Regions from separate parts of the Homo sapiens genome. Here regions 2 and 3 are each linked to region 1. The links are contacts of gene promoters, found by promoter capture Hi-C in blood cells and fetal thymus (Javierre and others, 2016). All regions are on one chromosome and are shown on one strand. The core of a region is centred on a gene start or on the middle of the fragment in contact, and the rest is flanking DNA. Distances in the headings are between cores, read along the strand shown.

The links. Contacts are between HindIII fragments. The CHiCAGO score rates a contact against its expected background, and 5 or more counts as called.
Region 2: a fragment that was not itself captured here is called in contact with the fragment with the promoter of DYNC1LI2 in region 1 in 6 of 17 cell types (naive CD8 T cells, naive CD4 T cells, M1 macrophages and 3 more); the score reaches 7.7 in naive CD8 T cells.
Region 3: a fragment that was not itself captured here is called in contact with the fragment with the promoter of DYNC1LI2 in region 1 in 1 of 17 cell types (M1 macrophages); the score reaches 5.5 in M1 macrophages.

Annotation. Positions count from the first base shown.
Region 1 is chr16:66,750,086-66,753,945 of GRCh38, reverse strand. It overlaps DYNC1LI2 (dynein cytoplasmic 1 light intermediate chain 2), which reads left to right and starts at 2,337. Exons shown (of 13, transcript NM_006141.3): 1 at 2,337-2,461; 2 at 2,600-2,673. The coding sequence starts at 2,355. It overlaps DYNC1LI2-DT (DYNC1LI2 divergent transcript), which reads right to left and starts at 2,194. Exons shown (of 2, transcript NR_133569.1): 1 at 1,046-2,194; 2 at 1-950. RefSeq lists an enhancer at 1,981-2,696 and a silencer at 1,910-2,709. The HindIII fragment of the contact is 3,643 bases long and covers 1,408-3,860 here.
Region 2 is chr16:66,646,060-66,649,682 of GRCh38, reverse strand. All of the region lies in intron 1 of CMTM4 (CKLF like MARVEL transmembrane domain containing 4), which reads left to right. Among named protein-coding and RNA genes, the nearest start is that of CMTM3, 43 kb to the right of the region's middle. The HindIII fragment of the contact is 8,901 bases long and covers 1-3,623 here.
Region 3 is chr16:66,624,463-66,628,210 of GRCh38, reverse strand. The region is part of intron 2 of CMTM4 (CKLF like MARVEL transmembrane domain containing 4); the gene reads left to right. Among named protein-coding and RNA genes, the nearest start is that of CMTM3, 22 kb to the right of the region's middle. The HindIII fragment of the contact is 4,903 bases long and covers 1-3,748 here.

The DNA of each region.
Region 1 (3,860 bases), core at 1,088-3,587:
TGACCACTGGATACCTCTGTCTTTGCAAAATGTGTCCAGAAATGTCACCCTAAGAAATCCAGCCTGACTGGCATGGGGGGCTAGCTTCTTTGTTAGCATCAGTGAGGTTTTATGGGTTCTACCCTAAGATGTTTCTTGGCATTCTACATGACCAACTCTTAGATTATAGTTAATACAGTAATGACGTTTAGATTATCATTTTTATTTCAAATAATTTCCTATCCTATTCCTATGCATTTTTAAATTAAATTTTACTTTATTTGACAGTCTTACTCTGTCGCCCAGGCTAGAGTGCAGTGGTGTGATCTCAACTCCCTGCAGCCTCTGTCTCCTGGGTTCAAGCAATTATCGTGCTTCAGCCTCCCAGGCAGCTGGGATTACAGGCGGATGCCACCATTCCTGGCTAATTTTTTTTTTTTTTTTTTGTATTTTTAGTAGAGACGGGGTTTGGCCATGTTGGACAGGCTGGTCTGGAACTCCTGACCTCAAGTGATCCGCCAGCCTCGGCCTCCCAAAGTGCCGGGATTACAGGTGTGAGCCACCGTACCTGGCCTTCCTATGCTTTTTTGTTAAACTCTTCCACAGGACTTTAATAGTTCCTGCTAAATTTCAACTTGTTAGATTTAGTCTCTGCTCAGTTTGTCATGCAGTAGATAAGGCAACCCTTCCTGCTTCAGGTCATCCACAACTTCCATGACTGCTGCTGTATTCTTATCCAAGTCACTGATGGCACCCTGAATTGGCTGGCCAGGGCAGGAGGTTTGGGCAGGCCCCTAGCAGCCTCATCTGCTGGTCCCTCCTCTTCATCAGCCACCTCTGGGCTAGTCTTTAATAAGCCTCAGTGCTATCATCCAGCATTGATTTCACTTTCGCATCTAAGATGTGAATTGTCAAATGCCCTGTTGAAATCTGCATTTGCTGTATCTGCAGCATCCGCCTACCTGGTACTCCTGCAAAAAAGAAAGATACTGTGTAAATCTGGTATTCTCTTTTCCTTTAGTGTTTAATCACAAAATTTCACTTAGTGCTGATTAAGCTCACTGGCCTGTAATTTTCATCTCCATCTTCTGTCCTGTGAAAATTCAGCACTGCTTGCCCTTTTAGGACTTCTGGCACTTTGCCTGATTTTCCCAGATTTCCAAGGGAGGAACTCAGTGGGTTTTCACTCTCGTCTTGTTTAAACCTTACATCCAGTTTGGCAGATGATATGCCCATTTGTTTTATCCCGTAATTCATGCCGCCAGATTTTTTGGCATCAGGATCACAATCCTACTCATCTGAAACCTACTTAGGTGGTGCTTTTCTGCCACATTCCACTTCCTTGTGATATTTAGAAATGTCTTGTTAGCCTGTTTCCATAGAGAATGGCAAGAGCCCTCAAGTAGAGGCCACACCTAAAATTAAGCTTGATAATGGAATGTATGTTTTTCCTTCGGTTACTCTCCGCTCTTTCCCTTTTCCATCCCCTTTCCTTTTATTTTTCTCCCCGCTCTGCACCTGCCAGCTGGCCCCCAAGGAAATTAAGGGCTCCTCTTCTGGTGTGAAATGCTGGCTCCCTGAAAACATCATTTTAAAAAGCATGTTAATAAAGCAAAGCCAAGTGTATTATGCACTGCGGTCAAGAGCACTACTTCACAGTCTTTAGTCTTCGGAGGAGGAGGGGGAAATGCAGGATATTTATGAGGATTCTGGGGTCTTCCTTAAGGCTAGTCTTTCAATGCAGGGCTTGAGTAGGGTTAGGCCAAGTTCATGATATAATGGTCCAAGGTTGGGGAATAAATTAGAAGTACCGAATGTTATCTTCTAGCCTTGGGTCCTTGGGTGGGTTTCTTAAATTTTTTGAGCTTCAGGTTCCTCATCTGTGAAAGGGTTAGATAAGATTCAGTGAGATAATGTGTGACTCTGGCACATGGTGAGCTCTAGATAAATGGCGCTTTTGTGTCCATCAGTCTCATTCCCAAAGCCTAGGCTTTCGGGTCGGTCATCCGGCTGCCCGACCCGCGACGGCGCAGGGGAATCGGCGAGCGTGGCGGGGTGCTGCGCTGCGCCCCTCAGCCGGCAGAGGCCGCCAGCGCGCCCTCGGTCCGGACGGTGCCCGCCCCTGCCACCGCCTCCCCGCGCATGGCTGCCCCGGCGGCTGCCTGACCGCCGCCCGCCACCTCGGCGGCCTCGCAACCCGTGGGAGCCCGTGGCCATCGCAGACCTAGAGGACACGTTGGGCGGCGCAGTCGCCGCGGCAAGGTCGGCGGGCGGCGCGGCGCGAGGGACGGCGAGCGGGGGGCGGCCCGGCCCGGGTCCTCGCGGGTCCTCGGCGGGCCCGGGGGAGGGCCCTCTTTGTGGCTGCAGTTGGCAAGATGGCGCCGGTGGGGGTGGAGAAGAAGCTGCTGCTAGGTCCCAACGGGCCCGCGGTGGCGGCCGCCGGCGACCTGACCAGTGAGGAGGAGGAAGGCCAGAGCCTATGGTGAGGCCGCGGGCGGTCGGGCCGGGCCGTGGGGGGCGCGGCCTCTGGGCCGGACCGTCGGACACACTGAGGGGCCGACGCGAGCCGGGCCATCCCAGCCCGGCCCGGGGCTGACCACTCTTGCCATTGTCGCCACAGGTCCTCCATTCTGAGCGAAGTGTCCACCCGCGCCAGGTCCAAGCTGCCGTCCGGCAAGAACATCCTGGTCTTCGGTGAGCGCCGGCGGCGGGGCGTTGCCCCAGGTCGCTGGGGTGGGCGAGGCGGGCGCCCCTCCCTCAGGTCCCCGCCTTCCCCGTTCCAGCCGCCTGCCCGCAGCCTGGCGGGAAAGGGACCGTCGGCCCTGGCCGGTCAGCTGGAGAGTGGTCAAGCCTCCAGCGCCTGAGGGTGGGATGCTGCCCTCTTTGGAGAGCGTAGTGGTGCTTTGGGGTTGTCGGCATATTGTTTCAGTCACTTGGCCCTCTATGCCTTCATTGCCTCGACGGTTACCAAATTGAGGTCGTGGAGAGGGGAAGCTAGTAGATGAGATTAGGTGGAGAAGGTGGGAGAACGAGGTGACCTGGGCTCGGAGCTGTGGGGAAATGACCACGGGAGCCTTCTTTGAGCCTCATCAGTAGTGCATAGTCCGAGGTTTTAGGGACTTTGCAGAGGACAGAGAGTCAGCACTGGGGACGTTTCCTCCATTATGCTAGCCCTCACTGCTAGGTTACCTGAGTCAGGTCCCTTACTCCCTCTGGCCTCACTCTCCTCAAGTGAGGGAGTTTGGGTACATTCACACAGCAAGTCCATTTGTTGCTTGGGACCTGTGGGCTGGGCACAGGCTCAGCATAGGCGACTCTTAAACACTATAGAAGAATCTCAGTCTGGTGGAAGACAGATGTATTGGTGATTGCATTGCACCATGCCGATTATTGTGGAAGCATTACACTGCTTAGAGCTGGTGAAGGAGGATGATTCGGGGGTTGAGTATTTTGCAGAAAAGTGTCAGTATGCAGGGACACAGATGACAAGAGGGTGTGGGGTTTGGAAACTGCTAGAAGCGCCTTGTGGTTGGTGGCTGCTAAGGTAAGTTGGGGGCAGATTGTGGGAAGGCTGAAGAGTTAGTGCTGTTTCCTGAAGTTCTCTGATTTTTCAAATGGCTTTTATCTCACCTCCATCCCCCAATTCCCATGGGAATCACTGCCTTGGTAGTTTTCCTACTGTTAGAATGTGTGACCTTTCTCAGGAATTGACTGTGGTAGGTAATACCGGACCCTTAGAGATCTTCAAGAAGTGGGGGATCAAGATCACCAGATCTGAGTTTTAGAAAGAACGCTGCCTGCAGAGGGACAGTAGCTCAAAATGAGCAGGTACTGAAGTCAGGCTGACAGGTCCTCACCTTGGTCTGGATGCAGAGGGCCTG
Region 2 (3,623 bases), core at 488-2,987, 100 kb after region 1:
AAGGCTGAGGTTGAGCCCAGGCTTAGGGAGTGGGGAGGCTGCTGAGGACGGACCATACCTGCTCCCACTGTGGAGTCTGCAGGACACCAGGTGATATAAGTCATGATTAAATTGGGATATACTCTTCAATAGATTTGAAATGACCTGTCATGGAAATAATGCATATATTAGGAAGAAAAAAAATCAGGGATAGATAGATAGATAGATAGATAGATAGATAGATGGATAGATAGAGAGAAGGAATCAAGACCAAAAGAAAAAAGCAGCATATTTGCTCCCTAAGGAGCTTGTTCACCAATGCATCCCTAGAGTTAGGATCGTGCCTGGCATGTAGTAGATCCTCAGTTAATTTTAGCTGAATAAAGGGATGGTACTTGCCTAAATACTACTTTAAAAAAAAAATGGACTTTTAAAACATAAAGGCAAATGTCCACACCCACCTCAGGAACTTTTTCTTTTTTTAAGAGACAGGGTCTCACGCTATTGCTGGGACTGTAGTGCAGTGGCTATTACACAGCCATGATCATAGCTCACGGTAGGCAGCCTCAAACTCCTGGGCACAGGCGATCCTCCTGCCTAGGCCTCCTGGGTAGCTAGGACTACAGGTGTGCACCACTGTGCCCAGCAACCTCAGTCACTGTTTAGAACATAGTGTCTGGGGGCTAAGATTTCTCTTTTCTTTTCTTTTCCTTTTCCTTTTCTTTTCTTTTTTTGACAGAGTCTCGCTCTGTCAGCCAGGCTGGAGTGCAGTGGAATGATCTTGGCTCACTGTAACCTCTGCCTTTTGGGTTCAAGCGATTCTCCTGCCTCAGCTTCCTGAGTAGCTGGGATTATAGGCCTGCGCTACCACACCCAGCTAGTTTTTGTATTTTTAGTAGAGATGGGGTTTCACCATGTTGGCCAGGCTGGTCTTGAACTCCTGACCTCAGGTGATCAGCCTGCTTCAGCCTCCCAAAGTGTTGAGATGACAGGCGTGAGCCACCGTGCTCGGCCTGGGGGCTGAGATTTATTTCTTTTTTTTTTTGAGACGGAGTTTCATTCTTGTTGCCCAGGCCGGAGTGCAATGGCGTGATCTCGGCTCACTGCAGCCTCCGCCTCCCGGGTTCAAGCGATTCTTCTGTCTCAGCCTCCTGAGTAGCTGAGATTATAGGCATGCGCCACCAGGCCCAGCTAATTTTATATTTTTAGCAGAGATGGGGTTTCACCATGTTGGTCAGGCTGGTCTTGAACTCCTGACCTCAGTTGATCCACCAGCCTCGGCCTCCCAAAGTGCTAAGATTTCTTAAGATATTAATGATGAGGAAAAACTCAGATCCAGGAAAAATATTTTCATTCCCAAACAGATGAAGGCACCATCCTCGTAGCAGTTGGGAAAAGCAAGAATACTAGGTAGTAACAACCAAGGTTCATTTTTCTGCTTACTCTTTCTAGCCCATGTGTCCTCACTGCTGGTAGAGCAGCTACATTTCAGAGCTTGCTGGGCACTGTGGTGAAGGGAGGTCTCTGGAACATCTCATACTGGCAACAAAGTCTTCCACCTGAAAGTGATGCACTTGGCAGCTCATTAGCCAGAAGTAGTCTTGTGGCCCCACACAAATTCAAAGGATGCGGGGAAGGTGCTGGATGGTGGAGAACCACAAATATTTGGCAGCCAGCATTAATGACTCCTACAACCCTAATGACAGCTGTCTTTTATAGGATGAGAGTTGCTTTGGATTCAAGTGAATACAGACAAAGTGCATTTAAAGCAGTGGGTCACCATCACTGTAAATAAAAATACCACTTTTATCAAATGATTTCACAACTTCTCTCACACAGATGTCTAATGAGTAATCAAAGAACAGCAAAGCTGGGTGTGGTGGCGTGCACCTGTAATCCCAGCTACTCGGGAGGCTGAGGTGGGAGGATCTCTTGAGCCAGGAGTTTGAGTCCAGCCTGGGCAACATAGTGAGACTCATTTTTTTTTAAAAAAAGAAAGAACAATAGTTTGAAGTTAGGTTCTCTGGTGTTTTGTGTGGGTGATTAAGGCTGGATCCTGAACTTCTCTGAGTAGCACTCAGAGAGATAGATGTTCACATTCCTCATTTGCTCTTTTGTCCAACTTCTTCCCCAGTCTCCTCACAGTTGGCCCTGCGCACACCTTCCTTACCCCCAATGGTGTATCAGAAGCAATGCTCACGTATTTCTAGGTGATGTCATAGATTGCTTTTTTAGATGGAAAAACAGGGTAAGTTTTTGACTTCTCAGATGACTGACAAGATTAAATCTGGACTAAAAAGAGAACTTTCTTTTGTGAAAACAGGCTATAATTGTGAAGCCTGTGTACTTTTTAAAAGGACTTTTTTTTTTTTTTTTTTTTGAGACAGAGTCTCGCACTGTTGCCCAAGCTGGAGTGCAGTGGCATGATCTCGGCTCACTGTAACCTCCGCCTCCCCATTTCAAGCGATTCTCCTGCCTCAGCCTCCTGAGTAGCTGGGACTACAGGCACCTGCCACCACACCCGACTACTTTTTTGTATTTTTTTTTTTTTTAGTAGAGGCGGGGTTTCACCGTATTAGCCAGGATAGTCTTGATCTCCTGACTTCATGATCCACCCACCTCGGCCTCCCAAAGTGTTGGGATTGCAGGTGTGAGCCACTGCACCTGGTCAAAAGGGCTTTTAAAAAGTCCTGACCAGGCTGGGCGTGGTGGGTCACGCCTGTAATCCCAGCACTTTGGGAGGCCGAAGTGGGTAGATCACCTGAGGTCAGGAGTTCGAGACCATCCTGGCCAACGTGGTGAAACCCTGTCTCTACTAAAAATACAAAAATTAGCCGGGTGTGGTGGTGCACACCTATAATCCCAGCTACTCAGGAGGCTGAGGCAGGAGAATCGTTTGAACCCAGGAGGTGGAGGTTGCAGTGAGCCAAGATCGCACCATTGCACTTCAGCCTGGGTAACACAGCGAGACTGTGTCCCAAAAAAAAAAAAAAAAATTCATGAATGGTTTCAAAACAAGTAAGGATTGGTTCTTAGAGGTCACTAAAATTTAACTCATAACCTGGATGTTTCAAAAAAGTGTCCATACATAGGGCATTTAATTTTTTTTTCTAATTAAAAACACATATACTCTTTGTAGAAATTTTGGAACATGAAAGCGGGCTCAATGAAAATAAACCTATCCACATTTCTACCATATAGATGGGTTTACTATCAATATTTTACTATAGATTCTTCCTGAATCTATAATATATACATGTGATATATTTACATACATGCAGTTATATACAATGTGTACATATATGTGTATATATTATATGCATGTATTATAAATACATATATGTATGAATATGTATATTTCTTACATATTCAAACACGACAGGAGTGTTAATTAAAAAAGGTAAAATCTCTGTGATTCCCCTGTTCCCCACCTAATCCTAATCCATAGAGAGGTATTGATTTTTTACTGTTTAGCTTAAATCCTTCAATGCACATAAATGTGTTTGTAAACACAAATATGCTTATTTTTTGTTCTTCACCAAAAATGGGGTCACTTTATGCCTTGTGTGCTGTACTCTGTTCTTTCTCTAAGTATCCCTTGGACCCTTTCCCCGCCAGTCCACAGAATCCCCCATCTCTCTGCC
Region 3 (3,748 bases), core at 494-2,993, 130 kb after region 1:
ATGTCTCGGTATAAAACCTGATTGTACATTTGTTCAATTCTGAGATAGGAGAAAAACCGCCCTATGGCGGGAGGCGAGACATGTTGGCAGCAATGTTGCCTTGTTATTCTTTACTCCACTGAGATGTTTGGGCAGAGAGAAACATAAATCTGGCCTACGTGCACATCCAGACATAGTACCTCCCCTTGAACTTAATTATGACATAGATTCCTTTGCTCACATGTTTTTTTTGCTGACCTTCTCCCTATTATCATCCTGTTCTCCTACCGCATTCCTCTTGCTGAGATAATGAAAATAATAATCAATAAAAACAGAGAACTCAGAGACCGGTGCCGGGGCAGGTCCTTGGTATGCTGAGTGCCGGTCTCCTGGGCCCACTGTTGTTTCTCTATGCTTTGTCTCTGTGTCTTACTTCTTTTCTCAGTCTCTCGTCCCACCTGACGAGATATCCCACTGGTGTGGAGGGGCAGGCCACGCCTTCAGAAGAGGCCAGGCACAAAGCACATGTTATGTCATTCTATTTGTATGAAATGTCCAGAATATTTGTGGCAGATTTCACACACAGGAAAAAAAAAATGTCCAGAATAGGCAAATCCATAGAGACAGAAAGCAGATTGGTGGTTGCTTAGGGTTGGGGGAGGAATGAGAAATAACTGCTAATGCGTATGAGGCTTTTTTTGGAGTGCTAAAAATGTTCTAAAATTACATTGTGATTGAATTATATACTTTAATTGGGTATATGTTATGGTATGTGAATTATATCTCAATAAAGCTGTTTAAAAATACGTGATATGACCCAATGAAGGGTAACCACTTAAAATACTTGAGTATAAATCCTTCTAAACTGTTCTCTCTAGACAGTCTTTTGCGTATGCATGTGTGTTGTGATATGTGAGTGCAGAAAAATGGAACCATTAAAATCATGCTTTTTCATTTAAATTATTGTACCTTACATGTTAAATATATAACTACGTGATTATTTTTAATGACTGCATAGTGTTCCATTATGGAAATACCATTTTATTGAACAACTCCCCTATTGAGCACTTTGTTTGCTTCCTTATACTTAGACCTTTTTGCCTTATATCATTTATTTATTTATTTTTTTGAGACAGAGTCTCACGCTGTCCCCCAGGCTGCAGTGCAGAGGCGCAGTCTCCGCTCACTGCAGCCTCGACCTCCTGGGCTCAAACAATCTTCCTACCTCAGCCTTCCAAGTAGCTGGGACTACAGGAACGCACTACCATGCCTGGCTAATTTTTTTGAATTTTTTTGTAGAGACAGGGTTTTGCTGTGTTGCCCAGGCTGGTCTCGAACTCCTGAGCTCAAACAATCCACCCACCTCAGCCTCCCAAGTGTTGGGATTACAGGCAGGAGCCACCATGCCTGGCCCCCAATATGATTTTCTTTTTTTTCCTTTTTTTTCTTTTTTTTTTTCTTTGAGACGGAGTCTCATTCTGTCTCTCAGGCTGGAGTGCAGTGGCGCAATCTGGGCTCACAGCAACCTCTGCCTCCTGGATTCACGCAGTTCTTCTGCCTCAGCCTCCCGAGTAGCTGGGACTACAGGCATGTGCTACTATGCCCAGCTAACTTTGTTTTTTTTTTGAGAGGGAGTCTCACTCTGTCGCCCAGGCTGGAGTGCAGTGGCGAGATCTTGGCTCATTGCAATCTCCGCCCCCTGGCCTCTAGCGATTCTCTTGCCTCAGCCTGCCGAGTAACTGGGACTACATGGTGCATGCCACCGTGCCTGGCTAATTTTTTGTGTTTTAGTAGAGATGGGGTTTCGCCATATTGCCTAGGGGTGGTCTTGAGCTCCTGAGCTCAGGCTGTCCACTCACCTTGGCCTCCCAAAGTGCTGGGATTACAGATGTGAGCCACCACGCCTGGCCACAGCTAATTTTTTAGTAGAGACGGGGTCCAGCTAATTTTTGTATTTTTAGTAGAGACGGGGTTTCACCATATTTGCCAGGCTGGTCTCCATCTCCTGACCTCAGGTGATCCGCCCACCTCGGCCTCCCAAAGTGCTGGGATTATAGGCATGAGCTGCTGTGCCTGGCCTCCCTTTTTCTTTTTATTCTGTTGACTTGTTAGAAAAACTGGGTCATTTATCCTGTAGAGGGTCTTGCAGTTGAGTTGGCTGCATGCACCCTCATGGTAGTGTTTCATATGTCCTTCTTTCCCCATTTTCTCTGTGACCTAGTCATTGATCTCAGGGCAGTGTGGTGCTATAGCAGCTGCTCTGACAATTGAAATGTTTTCTGATCTGCTGTGCCCTTGAGGCAGCCACTTGTCACATGTGGCCACTGAGCACTCGAATTGTGGCTAGTGTGATTGAAGAGTGAAATTTTTTATCTTATATGAATTAGTTTAACTTCAGTCACATATGGCTAGTGTTTGCCCTATTGGACAGCACAGTCCTAGAAGCTCAATTATATTTAGATTCATCTTTTAAGCAAGTGCTTCAGTATTTAAATATGATTCAGTGGGATTTGAGGAGGCAGATATGTTATGCTCTTGTTAGCAGTTGCTGGCGTTTTTTTCCCCTGGTTTAATCTGGTTTCTTAGCCTCAGATCATGTTGAAAGATTATTTTTTATCTTTTTAAAATAGGCTTTTTGACATATTTTTTCCCTGTATTTGCTGTTCCCATTCATCATCTCATTCTTCACTCACTACTGTTAATGATCATTACTAAAGCAAATTTAAAACTACTGATACTCCTACAACTTTAAAATTTTTGACTGTTTTCTTTTTTCTTTTTCTTTTTTTTTTTTTTTGAGACAGAGTTTCGCTCTTGTTGCCTAGGCTGGAGTGCAGCGGCGCAGTCTTGGCTCACTGCAACCTCCGCCTCCCGGGTTCCAGCGATTCTCCTGCCTCAGCCTCCCGAGTAGCTGGGATTACAGGCATGTGCCACCACACCCGGCTAATTTTGTATTTTTAGTAGAGACGGGGTTTTTCCATGTTGGTCAGGCTGGTCTCGAACTCCCAACCTCAGGTGATCCGCCCGCCTCGGCCTCCCAAAGTGCTGGGATTACAGGCATGAGCCACCGTGCCCGGCCTGTTTGTTTTCTAGCCCTTTGCTGCATCTCTGTTTTTATGTAGTCACTGTTAATGTTGATACTGTTTTATTTGATGTTTGACCTCACAGTGTATTGTATTTTCCCCTCGTTTCTGAATAGTCTTTGCTTTGGGAAGTATATTTTATATTCTTTTTTTACCCCTACAGCATCTTACCCAGAGCTGAGTGTAACTAAACGCTTCCTGGTTTGAATTTGTGAAAAATTTGCCCTGGCTTACGCAGGTCATAGCTGAAACCCATCCTGCTGGCAGATGCGTCTGAGCAGAGCTTTCCATGAGCCAGGAGCAGGTTGGGTGTCTGCTGCAAGACTCAGCACTGTTATGATGCCAGCATTGTCTCTTTACATCTTATTTTATTATTTTATTGAGACAAGAGTCTCGCTCTGTCACCCAGGCTAGAGTGCAGTGGCACGATCTTAGCTCACTGCAACCTCTGCCTCCCGGGTTCAAGTGATTCTCGTACTTCAGCTGCCCAAGTAGCTGGGATTACAGGCATGCGCCACCATGCCCAGCTAATTTTTGTATTTTTAGTAGAGATGGGGTTTCACCATGTTGACCAGGCTGTTCTCGAACACCTGACCTCAAGTGATCCATCCGCCTCAGCCTCCCAAAGTGCTGGGATTACAGGCATGAGCCACCGCACCAGCCATCTTTACATCTTCAAAAAGAGG